2 separate regions of the Homo sapiens genome follow, and region 1 is linked to region 2. The links are contacts of gene promoters, found by promoter capture Hi-C in blood cells and fetal thymus (Javierre and others, 2016). All regions are on one chromosome and are shown on one strand. The core of a region is centred on a gene start or on the middle of the fragment in contact, and the rest is flanking DNA. Distances in the headings are between cores, read along the strand shown. Region 1 overlaps IPO11 (importin 11). Region 2 holds the start of LRRC70 (leucine rich repeat containing 70).

Evidence for each region. Contacts are between HindIII fragments. The CHiCAGO score rates a contact against its expected background, and 5 or more counts as called.
Region 1: a contact is called between a fragment that was not itself captured here and the fragment with the promoter of LRRC70 in region 2, in 2 of 17 cell types (endothelial precursors and erythroblasts). The highest score is 7.7, in endothelial precursors.

What each region holds. Positions count from the first base shown.
Region 1 is chr5:62,466,581-62,469,388 of GRCh38, forward strand. IPO11 (importin 11) reads left to right here. Exons shown (of 30, transcript NM_016338.5): 6 at 551-683. Among named protein-coding and RNA genes, the nearest start is that of IPO11, 55 kb to the left of the region's middle. The HindIII fragment of the contact is 1,473 bases long and covers 693-2,165 here.
Region 2 is chr5:62,577,561-62,580,620 of GRCh38, forward strand. LRRC70 (leucine rich repeat containing 70) reads left to right here and starts at 1,259. Exons shown (of 2, transcript NM_181506.5): 1 at 1,259-1,375; 2 at 1,841-3,060. The coding sequence starts at 1,879. All of the region lies in intron 27 of IPO11 (importin 11), which reads left to right. It overlaps IPO11-LRRC70 (IPO11-LRRC70 readthrough), which reads left to right and starts at 1,175. Exons shown (of 4, transcript NR_073584.1): 1 at 1,175-1,375. The HindIII fragment of the contact is 1,459 bases long and covers 359-1,817 here.

The DNA of each region.
Region 1 (2,808 bases), core at 179-2,678, 110 kb before region 2:
TTAACTACATTCTTAATGTGAGGGTCAGGTTTTTAAATATCAGCACACTTTAGTAAAGCAACTGAGAAACCATGTGGTTTGTATGTTCCTGGCATTAAATGTGCAAAAGCCATATGCGTAGAACTGGCAGAACACGGAAGGCTTTCTCCTTTGTATATCTTCATATATTGATTTATCTGACATACTCAGTGACAGTCCATAAATCATTGTTTTAAACTGAGATTGCAACCTATTAGTGGAGATAAAAAGAATAAAAATAGAATATATAAGACTGCAATGCAGGCATTTGATGAGGTATTAATATTGTTTTAAGAAACTAGTATTTTAGGGGTGTGTCTGTGTGTGTTTAGCAGCCAGTGTAAGCTGTATGTGTTACTGTGCATTGTGGCTAAAAAAGTATGAAACATTGCCACAAATATTCTTTGACTATTTCAGATCTCTCAGAAAATGTGTGCTTAGTTGTAAAACTAAAATATATTACTTTGTAGTTCTAATGTATTACTGAAATGTATAATACACTATGAATAAATTTGTTGCCTTTTCTTTGCAGTTAGCTTCTGGAATTTATAATTTTGCCTGCTCTCTGTGGAATCACCACACAGACACATTCCTGCAAGAAGTTTCTTCTGGCAATGAAGCTGCAATTTTGAGTTCACTAGAACGAACACTGCTATCATTGAAAGGTACTATTAAGCTTGATATGTTCATTTTTGAAATGAGATACCTCAGAACAGTCACCAAATAGTTCCTTTAGACGGGTTTTCTGTTCCCAGTTTCACTGGAAAAATAAGAGGTTTATTTCTCCCTGAAAGATAAGGGCTTATTTATAGTTTTGTGGCAGTAGCTCTTCCTCTACCCCTTCTGATTTTTGAAAGCACATATAATAAGTTGAAGTGGATAGTTAGATTCACATTATTGCGGCCTCATGGCTCTGAATATATTTTTTTCAAATGCTTCTAGTTTTTGTTTCTACTTTATTTTTCTCATTCTGGACCCCTACACTTATCCTTGTCATGCCAACTTTCCTAAAATTTTTTCTCCAGGCTGGAATGAGCACTGTCTTTCATCCCTCCTTTCCCTGGAAAGGCAAGCCTCCATCTTTCATCTTAGTGCCTCAGGCTCACTTGGATTTCAGAAGGTGCTTTATAGGATGCCATCTTGGCCTGTGTCTTGGTATATGTTGCTTGCAGGCATTCCCTTAGCATAAATCTCCATCTCACTTTCCTTGAGCTGTTTATCTTGATGAATGTATTCCTAGGTTCCTTTTCTTCTAAAATATACTCATTTGTCTTATTCTCTTACTTTTCTAGTCCCTCTCTTCTTTCTGTTCTGGTTGCTAAGACTTTTTTAGTTCTTTTTGTTTGTTTGTTTTTTGTTTTTTTGGACAGACAGGGTCTTGCTCTGTCTCCCAGGTTGAAGTGCAGTGGCATAATCATAGCTCACTACAACCTTGAACTCCTGGGCTCAAGTGATCCTCTCACTGCAGCTTCCTGAGTAACTGGGACTACAGGCACATGCCACTGCACCAGGCTGATTTTTACATCTTTCTGGTCTTGAACTCCTAGCTTTAAGTGATCCTCCTGCCTTGACCTCCCAAAGTGATAGGATTACAGGGATGAGCACTGTGCCTGGCCTAGTTTGTTTTTCTTAGTTTGATCTCAGGCAGCATCAGTTTCTCTCTTACTCTCAGTTTGCATTCTTTTTAGTTTTACCTATAAGTTCTTTTATCGTACTCATTCTGGTACCTTGGAATCCCATCAGTCTTGGCATCGCCTTAATACATCACTTACTTTCACCAGACAATGGATGCACAAATCCCAAACTGTCAGCACATTTTGTGAAACCTGTGAAGAAATGTTTGAATGATTTTAAAGGACTGTTGAAAAATAAAATCCATTGTAGAAGTAGTTATAAAAGTGAGTGGAGATGGTTTTGTTAACATTCTTGAGGAAGAAATTACAGACATTGGAGAGAAATGTTTGCTCAGAAAGAATTACAGAAACTGATATAAGGCTGTGTATACAAAGCTGTGTGTATAGTAGTATATTTAATGATTAAGAAATTTTCAAGATTTCTTTTGATTATAGGGTTTTCTTACCTTATTGATTTCAAAGCCTAACTCCTGACGAAAAAGATGTAGCTTTACTATATCTTTGCCTGCCTTAAGCTTTTTAATACCTCACCATCTGAAGGTCTTAGATTCACATTAACTTTTTAGAGATATCCTGCCCTGGAAAATTTTGTTCTGTAACTATACATTTCTGTTCTGAAATGAAGAAATACTCCAAACTACAATTTTTGTTTTGTGTAATCTCTATCTGAATTTACACTTACGTGCATTTAGTATCTTTTAGACATGGATGCATTCATTATTTCATTCGACAAATCTATAGATCCTTGGCACTGGGGAGACAGACTTAATAAAATGATCCCACAAATATATTTAAAGTGACACCTGTGACAGAGGCTTTATGATATTATGATAACTGATAATATGATCAGAAAAATTTCCCTGAGAAAGTGATCTTTGAGCTGTAATCTTAAAGGATAAGTGGAAGTTAACTAGGTGATGAAGGGAGAAGGAAAGGATCCTCTCAGGTATTGTGGCTCAAGGTCTTGTGGTGAGAAAGCATATCCAGAATAAGGGATTCAATTTGAATTCTGTTTTCTCCTTACGAAAACGAGGAAAACTTACTGCATCGTTATGATGCAGCAACTTCTGAGTTGCATATGATGATTTCAAACTGAAGGTCTTATAGACAGCTACATTCTAAACTTAATTTTAATACATTGCTTTAGACTTACAAA
Region 2 (3,060 bases), core at 9-2,508:
AAACATAGCCCCTACCTCAAATTCATATCATTTCTGTCACTTGTTTTGTTTTCCATTTTTAATGCATAAAATAGCAATAACAGTAACCAGCCATAATGGATAGGTGTAAGAATCATAAGTCATTTTGATAACGATCTGCTATCCAGTATGCATTGCTGAATTTTTAGTCATAGAAAGATAATGCTAGGTATTATTTCAGCTTTCTAATATGGACATAATTCATATTATTTCTAAAGTAATTGTTGATGTGAAATGAAACTGCTTTAATATCAAAGGAGAGTTGTATACAATTATATAACTTGATATTTTAGGAATATTATCAGGCTATTAGTAATATTAATAAAAGTCAGAATTAGAAAGCTTAAGCAACTAGCTTAAAGTTAATGAAAGAAAGTTAATGACTGAACAATATATAATATAAACAATTTATATCCGATTCTTTAAATTCTTGAAAAATGACGTTAAAAAATTCTCCATTTTTGTTCTAAAAGATTCAAACTGATACAGATATATATAGGGCGAAACATCGCCTCTTTTACTCTCCCCAATTTTTCTTGCAAAGATAACCTATGTCAGTAAGTTGGTATGCAGCTTCTTAACATCTTATAACCCAACACAACCAATTAGTGCGTTACTACTAATTAGTAGCTTACTACCAATTAGTACCTCACGTATTAAGTAGTACTCAGTATTTTTTGCAACCAAAAATATTTTGAAAATTTTAAAAAGAGCACTGGAGGATAATATAACAACATTTATGTTCATTCTAAATTTTTTCCCCTATTTTTATTAAAGGAATAAAGCATAAAGTTTAAGTCTTCAATGCGTATTTAACACAACATAAATATTTTATTCATTAAAAAGTTTACAAAAAATTGTATTACTCGATATACATCTTATTTGAACTAGCCTTTTCCATTCAGTAGCTATGTTGTTTGATAGCTAGAGTCTGTTGATTGATATTTGGGTTCTGAATAACTAATGTTTTCAAGTATCCTTTAAAAACTATTATTTTTATATTATAGGAGATATTTCAATGTGTATATTAGGAAAACTCTAACTGCATTCTGAAAAAATAAGTTCCTGAGATTTCCGTTCAGCAATACTTTTGAAACACAGATAAAATTACTTCCTGTCTCTTAGCTTCCTGTATCCATGGCAACCTCTGTTTTACACATTGACTGTAAAGGAACCAATGTGAAGAGTGGTGTTTCCTGAGCAAACGGTGACTTAAAAAAAAAAAAAAAAAAGTGGTGGGGTGGAGGTCAGCAGTGCCACAGAACAAACTGGAGTTAAGAAATGTCGTTCTTCAGATTTAAAAAGAAAACCTTTACTGAATCAGCTGAGTGTTAATAATACGAATTTCCTTTTCTTGGTAAGATTATTTACTTAAATATGAACTTCTAGCTGACATGAAAAATAGTTCTGTGAAAAACTGTAATTTAGAATTTAATTGTTCTGTAGTGAATTTGTATTTTCATAAATTATAATGTTATTTGATATTAGACTTTATGTTGTTAAAGGGACATATTAAATTCAAAGATTCTCATTCCTACATCATTTGTCACCTGTGTTGTAATCAATTGTAATTTTTAAGTTAACTTAGCAAATGTTTCATTAATCTGAACTATTTTGTCAAATAGTGGGTTAATGGCCTGATCATGTTAATAATTCTAGAACGTATTCCATACTCATTATTTTTTGCTATTACCATGGTATGATTTATGATAGTATTATTGGCTGATCCTAATTAAAATAGAATACAGAAGTTATAGTATTATAAAAAAAATTCATTTGATGAAGTTTTCGTGATTTAAAGCTTTACCTTCTCTTTTTATAGCCAATTCTGATCTGAACAGAAAATCCAAGAACAGGGATATGTGTGGATTACAGTTTTCTCTGCCTTGCCTACGACTGTTTCTGGTTGTTACCTGTTATCTTTTATTATTACTCCACAAAGAAATACTTGGATGTTCGTCTGTTTGTCAGCTCTGCACTGGGAGACAAATTAACTGCCGTAACTTAGGCCTTTCGAGTATTCCTAAGAATTTTCCTGAAAGTACAGTTTTTCTGTATCTGACTGGGAATAATATATCTTATATAAATGAAAGTGAATTAACAGGACTTCATTCTCTTGTAGCATTGTATTTGGATAATTCTAACATTCTGTATGTATATCCAAAAGCCTTTGTTCAATTGAGGCATCTATATTTTCTATTTCTAAATAATAATTTCATCAAACGCTTAGATCCTGGAATATTTAAGGGACTTTTAAATCTTCGTAATTTATATTTACAGTATAATCAGGTATCTTTTGTTCCGAGAGGAGTATTTAATGATCTAGTTTCAGTTCAGTACTTAAATCTACAAAGGAATCGCCTCACTGTCCTTGGGAGTGGTACCTTTGTTGGTATGGTTGCTCTTCGGATACTTGATTTATCAAACAATAACATTTTGAGGATATCAGAATCAGGCTTTCAACATCTTGAAAACCTTGCTTGTTTGTATTTAGGAAGTAATAATTTAACAAAAGTACCATCAAATGCCTTTGAAGTACTTAAAAGTCTTAGAAGACTTTCTTTGTCTCATAATCCTATTGAAGCAATACAGCCCTTTGCATTTAAAGGACTTGCCAATCTGGAATACCTCCTCCTGAAAAATTCAAGAATTAGGAATGTTACTAGGGATGGGTTTAGTGGAATTAATAATCTTAAACATTTGATCTTAAGTCATAATGATTTAGAGAATTTAAATTCTGACACATTCAGTTTGTTAAAGAATTTAATTTACCTTAAGTTAGATAGAAACAGAATAATTAGCATTGATAATGATACATTTGAAAATATGGGAGCATCTTTGAAGATCCTTAATCTGTCATTTAATAATCTTACAGCCTTGCATCCAAGGGTCCTTAAGCCGTTGTCTTCATTGATTCATCTTCAGGCAAATTCTAATCCTTGGGAATGTAACTGCAAACTTTTGGGCCTTCGAGACTGGCTAGCATCTTCAGCCATTACTCTAAACATCTATTGTCAGAATCCCCCATCCATGCGTGGCAGA